Linked DNA regions of Homo sapiens: region 1 is linked to region 2. Evidence: promoter capture Hi-C in 16 types of primary human blood cells and fetal thymus (Javierre and others, 2016). All regions are on one chromosome and are shown on one strand. Each heading gives the region's core, a stretch centred on a gene start or on the middle of the fragment in contact. The rest is flanking DNA. Distances are from core to core; before and after follow the strand shown. Region 1 overlaps CEP104 (centrosomal protein 104). Region 2 holds the start of CAMTA1-DT (CAMTA1 divergent transcript).

What was found. Contacts are between HindIII fragments. The CHiCAGO score rates a contact against its expected background, and 5 or more counts as called.
Region 1: a fragment that was not itself captured here is called in contact with the fragment with the promoter of CAMTA1-DT in region 2 in 1 of 17 cell types (neutrophils); the score reaches 5.3 in neutrophils.

Annotation. Positions count from the first base shown.
Region 1 is chr1:3,833,562-3,838,678 of GRCh38, forward strand. CEP104 (centrosomal protein 104) reads right to left here. Exons shown (of 22, transcript NM_014704.4): 9 at 3,731-3,958; 10 at 2,934-3,131; 11 at 1,364-1,531; 12 at 301-474. Among named protein-coding and RNA genes, the nearest start is that of CEP104, 21 kb to the right of the region's middle. The HindIII fragment of the contact is 6,071 bases long and covers 1-5,117 here.
Region 2 is chr1:6,783,664-6,788,318 of GRCh38, forward strand. It overlaps CAMTA1-DT (CAMTA1 divergent transcript), which reads right to left and starts at 1,317. Exons shown (of 3, transcript NR_149049.1): 1 at 995-1,317; 2 at 486-560; 3 at 229-382. It overlaps CAMTA1 (calmodulin binding transcription activator 1), which reads left to right and starts at 1,791. Exons shown (of 23, transcript NM_015215.4): 1 at 1,791-1,912. The coding sequence starts at 1,868. RefSeq lists enhancers at 157-833, 834-1,508 and silencers at 634-693, 774-833, 964-1,373, 1,714-1,873, 2,084-2,353 and 1 more. The HindIII fragment of the contact is 4,377 bases long and covers 1-1,542 here.

The sequences.
Region 1 (5,117 bases), core at 1,573-4,072, 2.9 Mb before region 2:
TTCTTTACCCTCAGATTTTCTCTTTTGATATCATTTTCTGTGTGTTTTTATTTATTTAAAAAATTAATGGCATATGTTGGATAAAAAAAACATTGGAAAAACCCAACTGTAGATTTTAACTGAAGTTTATGTCTAAGACAAAACTGACCTTTTAGAGCATAAGGAAAGTGTGATGGTGAATCCCTGAGAATAATGTTAACTGAGTAGAGACAGAATCTTGTAAAAGGTGTTAAGAAAGCCAGAGAGCTACAGGAATATGTTTATCATCTACGGTTTCAAATGCCGTGGTGAAGTTCAGACCTGAATAAAATTTGCAGCTGTGACGCGGAGGCGGGCAGAAGAATCTCCAGTTCTGGTGAGCAAAACGGGAATGGTCCTCTCCACACAGTGAGCTGTTTCAAGTTTACTCAGTTTATGTTTAGGAATATATTGTGTAATGATCATTTTCAACAATTTCAAAGAAGCCTGAAAAACCTAAGAGAAAAGTGATGAACACGGATGAGTTACTACGGTGCAATTCCACCAAGAGGAAACATGGCATTTACTATCAGTAACACATACGAACATTATATCGAAAATGACATCTCGTCTGAAAGGCTGAAAATTGCAAACTGAAAACTGCTTTCTAAACACAGCACCTTGCATATAGAGGACATATGCTCTTACTTCACTCTGTCAGAAATCACTCCCCATCTTCCCTTCATACCGAGTATCTAACATCCCTGCTTCAATGGGTAAGCCCAAATCTTCCCTTCATACCGAGTATCTAACATCCCTGCTTCAATGGGTAAGCCCAAATCTTCCCTTCATACCGAGTATCTAACAACCCTGCTTCAATGGGTAAGCCCAAATCTTCCCTTCATACCGAGTATCTAACATCCCTGCTTCAATGGGTAAGCCCAAATCTTCCCTTCATACTGAGTATCTAACAGCCCTGCTTCAGTGGGCTGTTAGAAGCCCAACTGTGCAATGTCCATTCTTAAGGCCCATTCAGCATTAGAAAAAACAGTAATTCTCAACCTCATCAGGTTTCATGCAAAGTGAAAACACAAACTGAAGATGTGGTAGCATTGAACTAGGCCTCTACAAACGCCTGGCTTTGCAGACCATGGAAAAGCTAACACTGCTGGAGACCAGAGACAATGACCCAAGCAAAGGCAGATTTCCCAGACCCTTCATGTAAGATCAGTTGCACAGTATAGCTCTTGCTAGAGAACCTCATTTCTTAGTGATTCTATTGAGTTACAGTTGGTGACCACGTCAATGACCAACTGGTCCTCTCTCAAGCTGCTCTGGTCTTCTGTGGTACGGCGCATGATCTCATCCATGCACGCTGGAGCCAGCGCCAGCTGAGGGCACTCACGGAGGTCACAATGTCCTTTATGGCTCTTCTAACGAGAAAGACGGATGCTCTCAGTGTGTTCTTTAAATCTTCTTTTGGGGTTCCAACAGGCATTTCCATTAACTTCTTAGACAAGGCAAGCAGTGCATCCTCTCGGTAGGACCACGTCTTACAATAGGCCTCAGCAACCTACCACAAAACAGGCAGCATTTCATGGCATCACACAACCATCCTCCAACACTACACAACTTGAAGGCTTTGTTTTTTTTTTAACTAAAATGATTCATTTCTAAGAACAGAACTTTTATAAATGAAAATGATTCATTTCTAATAATAGAACTTTTACAAATAAATATGTATATTTAGAGAAATAATTTTCTCTGATAAGGAAATTTAAGACTATGTTAAAATATAAAAAGTATTAAATTCTCCAAGAGAAATATTTTAAAGCTGAGAACGAGGGAAAACCCTACTCATTTCTTTTTATTTTGAGACAAACTCTCACTCTGTCGCCCAGGCTGGAGTGCAGTGGCTCGGCTCACTGCAACCTCTGTCCCCCTGCGGGTTCAAGCAATTCTCCTGCCTCAGTCTTCCAGCTAGCTGGGATTACAGGTGCCTGACACCATGCCCAGCTAATTTTTGTATTTTTAGTAGAGATGGGGTTTCACCATCTTGGCCAGGCTGGTCTTGAACTCCTGACCTCGTGATCCACCCGCCTTGGCCTCCCAAAGTGCTGGGATTATAGGCGTGAGCCACTGCGCCTGGCCAACTCTACTCATTTCTATAAGGAGATACTTCCATCTTTTGCTATGCCATCCTTTTGCGCTGGAATTAGCTGGTATTCAGAAGGGAGCAGTTGTTTAATACAAGCTCCATGAATGCCAGAAGGAAACACCCAGGCTGAAATGAGTACTCACTGATACATCTTAGCTCATGTTTTTGCTGTTTCACATAATTTATAATTTACAGAAGGGCAGGCACGGTGGCTAATGTTTGTAATTCCAGCACTTTGGGAGGCCAAGGCCAGGAGTTCAAGGCTATAGTGAGTTATGATCACGCCACTGTACTCCACCCTGGGTGACAGAGTGACACTCTGTTTCATAAAAAAAAAAAAAAGGCCGGGCGCAGTGGCTCATGCCTGTAATCCCAGCACTTTGGGAGGCCAAGGTGAGTGGATCACAAGATCAGGAGATCGAGACCATCCTGGCTAACGTGGTGAAACTCTATCTCTACTAAAAAAAAATTACAAAAAATTAGCCAGGCGTGGTGGCGGGCACCTGTAGTCTCAGCTACTCAGGAGGCTGAGGTAGGAGAACAGGGTGAAGCCAGGAGGCGGAGCTTGCAGTGAGCGGAGATCTTGCCACTGCACTCCAGCCTGGGTGAAGAGCAAGACTCCGTCTCAAAAAAAAAAAAAAAAAAAGTTAACAAAAGACTTTCCAATTCAGGAAGAACAAAGGGAAGTCAACAATATTACAAATGCAAAGCCGTGGGCGTTTTCCCTCCTTTATGTGTAAGTACACAGAGGTGTGCGTACCATATAGACTAGCCTCCCCTCTGCCACCCCGTTTTTTTTTTTTTTTTTTTTTTTTACCAAGGTTTCTCCCAACACATCGATGGCAGAGCTGGCTTCTCTCAAGGCCTTCTCGGTTAAGGGCTCTGGCTCCCCTAACATGCCTCCCCTCCGAGCATCGCTGATGTCTGCATTACTCATTTCCGGCTCCACCACTGCCTCCCCATAATGCTTACGAATAGCTGGAAGAGGCCGCTCATCGTAGGGCAGGGACTCTGCCTGCAGTGAGTGAAGGAGAGAGGAAAGTGCTGGGGAGCTCCATAGGTCACATTCTCCAGTGCAACTCTCACTGGCAGGCTTACTGCGCTTACTTACCTGATCTGAAAGATGTTATTTTGCTAAATATCAGTATCATCAGATTAGAATAATTTATACAACAAATAGGATGTAATTGAAAAGATTAGATGAGGCTTTCTATTACTTTCTAAACTCATTACAGACCTAATAAAAAAAAGCAAGGTAGATTCCACCTCAATGACTGTTTACTGGTAGCAATTTCAGTTCAACTGACATGGAGACTACTAAAGTAAAGGCTATTACATCTTTTTTTCTGACAAGATCTCTGATATTTTCTTAGTTTATTGCTTAGAAATAAGCATCAAGCCTGATTTTAATAAACATGCTCACAAGGTGTCATTAGGCCTATTCCTTATGTGGCTATGCTCTCACTCAGCACTATGGCTCCTAGAATGGAACAGAGGTGGGTCTGGCTGGGGAGCACTCATGCACCCCATGCATGGGAACAGCACCTGGCACAACACATGTCCTTTACAAATACCCAAATAAATTGAACGCCAATCTGAAACAGAATTACCTACATTGATCTTTGGATGAGGATCTGTGGCAGGGAGTAACGGGTCTACTGCAGAATGCTGAGGAGAAATAGTTAGAGAATATGATGAAGGCTTTTCCTGAAGGAAAGGTTCTGCAAACTGGTTTTCTGTTCCTCTTTCTTCCAGTTGTGGTAGTGAGGGCATTGGCTTTTGGTGGCAAGGACTGCCAGAACGAGCGAGGGGCTGGAGGGGCAAATCAAAAGGTCTTCGCATCTAGAGAACAAAAAGGAACATTTAATTTCAAATGCCACTGCCACGCCAGATATATCTATCTCATTCCTTCAGATGAATAAGACTTTAGAAAGCTGTGCTGGAAGAGGCTCCTTGGCACAATGAAAAATTTCAAAACCAAAGAGAAACTTCCACAGAGTGAAATCTACTTGAAAGTCCCACACAATCAAGTTGCACTCATCTCAGTTGTCTCTCCACATTTCTGTGTTGACTACAAAAGTGACATACACATCCAAAATGCTAGTGAAGGAATGAGCATTTGTGCATGGAGCATGTCCACACATATGTGCCCCTGCAGGAGCACGGTGGTGTGGAGAAAGCACCTGGGCTGGACCCAAGTGGACTTTTATTCAAAATCTGGCACTGCTATTCACTGTGTGTACAAAGGAAAGTGATGTTGTGTCATCCCAACAAGCAAAGCTGACTGACCAGTTGCTGCACACTAGGCATGGTACTGAGTGTTTTGGACAGGTAGGCTCATTAATGCTTACTCTGTTTACCCCCATTTGAAAGCTGATGGAAAACTGAGGCATAAAGCTGATAAGAATTAGTCTGTGATCACAGAGCTGGAATGGTGGTGCCCGGATTTGAACCCAGACAGTCCAGCTCCAGAGTGTGCTCTCTTGTTTTTCAGAGGCAGGGTCTCGCTCCATCACCAAGGCTGGAGTGCAGTGGTGCGATCGTAGCTCACTGCAGCCTCGAACTTCTGGGCCCAAGTGATCCTCCTGTCTCACTCTCCTGAGTAGCTAGGACTACAGGTGTGTGCCACCAGGCCTGGCTATTACTTACTTTTTGTAGAGACAGGGTCTCTCTATGTTGCCCAGGCTGGTCTCGAACTCCTGGGCTCAAACAATCCTCCAGCCTTGGCCTCCCAAAGTGATGGGATTACAGGCGTGAGCCACCATGCCTGGCCTTGAGAGTGTGCACTCTCAATCACTATTCCGTATCTCAGAACCTTCATTTCCTAATCTGTAACGTGGGCTGAGTGCCCCATTTGCATGAGTTCTAAAATCAGAGGCAGAGCACCTTATGGGAAATATGTTCTCAATACACCGAAGCTGTTAGCATTACGTTCTCACTTGATCCTTACAACACTGAGGGGTCAGTGGGGCAGGGTCATCACTGCCTTTTCCAAATAAGG
Region 2 (4,655 bases), core at 67-2,566:
TTTATGGCTTTTAATACATACTGTAAAATTGCTTTTCGAAAGGAATATACTAATTTACAATGCCACCAGCACTTCTTTTAAGAATCCGTTTCTCCACACAAATCGTCAACATAGGTGCTATTAAGAATGCTAATCGATAAAATATTGTCCCGCCGTTGTTAAAATTTTGCAATTTTTGAGGCTCATAAAATTAAAGTTTCTTGAAGAATGAGTGTGTAACACAAAACATTCTTTTGGGACATCTTTATTTCTGGAAAACCTAAGACATTCTTACTTGTGAAGACCAGAAAAAGAACACATGTTGTTAGGATTGGCACAGAATTCAGTGTGACAGTCAATCTTAATGCCAGAACACTTGAACGAGGATTTTTCACTTATTTTGCTAGTTGTCACCAACAGTAGCAAAAGGAAAAATAAAATGCGGAAGAATGAAATGTTCTTACTGCAAACCGTACAAGATCACATTGAGGGGCTGGAGCTCTTACATTCAACTTTTCTTTCCTTTTTCTTCTTTTTAAACAATTTGCGATTGCAGCCTCTCCTTTTGTTTCCGGTATTACCTGCCCAGGAGCAGAATTCCTTACTTTCTCCGGAGAGAGGCCGGTCCCTGGGAGCGCTGCCCAGCCACCCGCACGCCTAGCCGCCCCGAGAGCCGCACTCGGCGGACCCGGTTCCTAGGCTCGTTCCCGGGGCACCTGGCGGGCGCCCACCTCCCGGGGGGCACGTGCTCCCGTACGCAGCGCGAGGGCAGCGGGTGCCTGGCTATTTATTAGGAAAAGCCCCGCGCGGACTCTCCGGATTGAGGAGGGTGGGAAACTCGGCTGCCCAGCGCTCCACCCGGGCGGCCGGGGCTGGCGCTTCTCTGCTTTCGGCCGGCGGCCTCATCCTGGGACAGGCAACCATGAGTCATCCGCTCCGCGGGTCACATGGGCAACGTGACCAAAATAAAGTTTCGGTATTTTAAGCCGCCAGAAAAGGGGACAACGGAGCTCACCGGGGGCGGGCACAGGAGGCGGGCGCAGGCGGGCGGCGCCGGGGCCGTGGGGACGCGGCGCCGAGGGGGCGGGGCCTGGCGGGAGGCTCGCCCCTCCCCCACGGCCGGCAGCGACGCCCGGACTCCTAGGCAGTCGGACTCCAGGGCGCGGCACCCCTGCGGACCTCAGCCCCGAGGCCCCCCGCGTCCGGCTCCCCACCGGCAGCGGCGGCGGGCTGCGGGATCCCGGAGATCCCGGCGCGTCCCCCACAGCCACCGGGACCCCACGCGCCAGCAGCGGCTTCCCCGGGAACGTCCTTCAGCCCCGGGAGCACGCGGGAAAAGCCCCAGCGTGCCAATGAGGGAGCGCCTTCCTCATGACGGTCACGCTCGGGGGCGGGGCTTCCCTTCGCCGCTCCCGAGTTCCGGGAACCCCCTTTGATTGGTCTGGACGGCCTGGGAAACACTGTAGTGACGCCCAATCAAAACGCCACGTCTCGGCCTCGAGGAAATATTCCGTGTCGGGCCCGTCCTGATTGGACAGTTCTTTCGGGTTCTGGCCACTAGGAAGCTTTGTTTAGGTCCGGAAGGCGGGCTTTCCTGGGAGTGGGTGGGGAGGGGGCGTTGATTCTTGACCAATCCTTTCAGTCCGTTGGGTGGTGACCAGCCAATGGGCCGGATGGATAGGACGCTCCTCCCGGAGAGTAGTGAGACCCCTGGTGCGGGGCGATTGGCGGCGGGAGCGATGAGTGGCAGCCGCACGGCCCAACGGGAGCTGTGCGTGGGCCGCGGGGCGGGGCCAGGGCGGGTGCGCGGCGGCGGCGGGGTGGCTGGGCCGGCGGCGGCGGCGGTACGAGGCGCGCGCTCGGGGTCCCGGTCGCGAGGAGGAGGAGGATGTGGCGCGCGGAGGGGAAATGGCTGCCGAAAACAAGCCGGAAGGTAAGAGCCGGAGCGCGAGGGGCTGGGGGGCGGCGCGGCGGGCGGCGGGACCCGGCCCCGCCGGACATCCCGGGCATCGGCGGCGCCGGGCGGGAGCGCGGGGGCGCGGCGGGCGGGCGGGCGGGCGACCCGGCCGGGGAGGGGGCCGGCGGGGTGGGGGGGCGGAGCGCGGCCGAGTCCTGAGGTGACTCGCGGGGCCGGCGGAGCGCGGCGCCCCACACCCCACCCCCGGGGGCGGGCTGGGGCCGGAGGGGGCGGGGGGCTCGCGGGGCGGGGACCGGGCCCAGCGAGGAGGAGGAGCCGGCGGAGGGCCGGCGCCTCCCCCACCCGGACCGGGCATCCCCGCCGCTCCCGAGCCCGCTGCGCGGCCCCCGCACCCCCGGCGCTGGGTCCACGGTGGGGGCCGCGGGGCGGAAAGTTTATCCGCCTCGGGTCCTCCTGGCCCCGCGCCCCACTGCTCCGGGCCGGTCCCCGTCGGGCGGCAGCGGCCGGCGCTCAGCCCTCGCCGGCCCCCTGCTCTCCGGCGGGCAGGGCCAGATGTACTCTCTCCGGCACCCTCTTCAGCCCCGTGGACACCTCCCTGAGCGGGCGGGGGGTCCCCGAGCTTCTCCCCGCCAGGGGGACCCCGTCCTGCCGAGCGTCCCTCGGCCGAAGGGCCTCGTGTGACCCCTCCCCCTTCGCTTCCCGGGAAGGGAAGGGGGCCTGCGCAGCATCCCCGCCCCTCGCAGTCGTTCACATCCTACTCTTGCCCTTGCACCCTCACAGCCAGGAGGGTGGGGTCTCCGTTTCTATGGCAAGTGAGGATCTCCACACTCCCTTGCCCTTTACCTTCCGTGACCCCGATCCTTCCTTGGCACAGGGGTCCGTCTGATCTGCTCATCTTCTTTGGATTCTTTTGGGGCCTCTGCACACTCTCCGTTGACCCTTTTTGCCAGGACAAGGGGACTCAGGCTGCCCATGTTCTTCTTTCCTCACCCAGTGGATAGTGGGGGCTTGTGCAGCTCTGAAGTCATTTCTAAATAGGAAAGCAGACACTTCTTCCAGATCATGCATACTCTTACACTTTGCTGGGTTAGGGCGAGCTCATTTCCTAAATACCCTTTGAGTTGCCCTCCTTTTCTTATGGAGACAACTGGACGTTCACCGTGCTCCTTTCGCCATTTGTGTGTCTACACTGACTTGTTCTCTCTTCTCGGAGTTCCTTGTCTGGGTGAGAGTGGGCGCCCCAATAAGATGTAGGGCAGGGCTTCCATTGTGCCTAGTGCTTGAGTGAAAAGGGGCCACACTAGTTGCTCCTGTGTCTGAGGAAGACCGGGGTATATTTTTGCCTCCACTTGACTCTTGTGTCTCAGGAGGGGGCAACCTTCATCAGTTGACACTACCTCACTGGGAAAAGGGTCATGTGGCCTTGTTTTTTGATGTTTTGATTACTGTCTTCTGTGCAGTGAGAACCAGACTTTGTCCGTCCCACACTCAAGAGTCCTTGAACCTTTCCTGGATATAAACTTCCCGATTGTTTTTTGAGAGAACTCATATCCTCCTCTGTGGCTTCTGCTTCGCAGTCAGCCATATTTAGTGAGCCTGTTACTTTGACTTTTTCTAATTTTCTCAAATTGTATTCATGTTGGCTGGGTAAGGAGAAGCCATATGCCTTTCCATTCAGAAAAGGGAGTGTAGACACCCGTGTCGCCCACATGCCATCCTGGAAGAGGTTGCTTGTGTGCTCCTTGTTGTACTAGAACCTTCCTTTGGCTCTGGTGTTGTCTCTTGTGGGATCCAGACATTTCTTTAGATCTTGTAGCTTTCAGAAGGGGGAATTTGAATGCTTTCTGTTTTTTGCTGTTCCGGTTCTGCTTTGGAGAACCAGATCATGATGCTATATTCATTTGTTTACATATACATACATGTAGGTATACACAGATGAAATCACATTCATTACATATACAGTGCACAGGAAGTTGGAAGGGTCAGATGACTAGCTCTACATTTTGGGTGCATATGGGGACCTTTATGTGTAATGATACAGATAGATATTAACGTTGTTGGTAACTCTTCAGGCTTAGAAGCAGCAGCAGAAGAATCACGGATAAATGGCCAATTCTGACTATTCTTTGGTTTGTAATGTGTACTGTACTGAATAAGCAGAACGACATCCTGCGTGTTCACCAAGTCCCTGAATGTGCGAAGCGTACAGTGCCTGCCCATACGCATCGCAACTTTGGCGGTCTGAATTTAGGGGTGGTATTCGTTGCTTGATTCTGCATAGAGTGAAAAGTTCTTGATTTCTTTACTGCAGTGTAGGGGAAAGAGATTTCGTGTGTTTGGACAAACGACAGGAGATGGGTGAGAAGAATATGTTTTCCTGTGACAGAACTAGGAACGAATGACCGTAAATATGTCCCTTTTGTATTTTGGCCATTTAAATAATTGAGAGAGGTTGTGAAATTAGCAAAATGTACCTGTGGAAAGGCCCTCGACGCTTCATGAGAGGATGGGGAACGTTATTCTTCAAGTTCTTTTCTCTTGGACAGGGGAATGATTTGAGCCCTGTCGGCTCTAGTCAGGTGCTTTGCCTCCTCAGGTCTCCCTCCCTCCCTCCCTCCCTCCCTTTCTCCCTCTTTCACGAAATTCAGAATGGCTGCTAGCCGCTGTCACTCAGCAGGGAAGTCTTACTCTTTGACAGGCTTAGTGTGGAGACTCATCCTCCCCAACAAGTTCCGTTGGGCTCTGGGGCTTTGGCCTT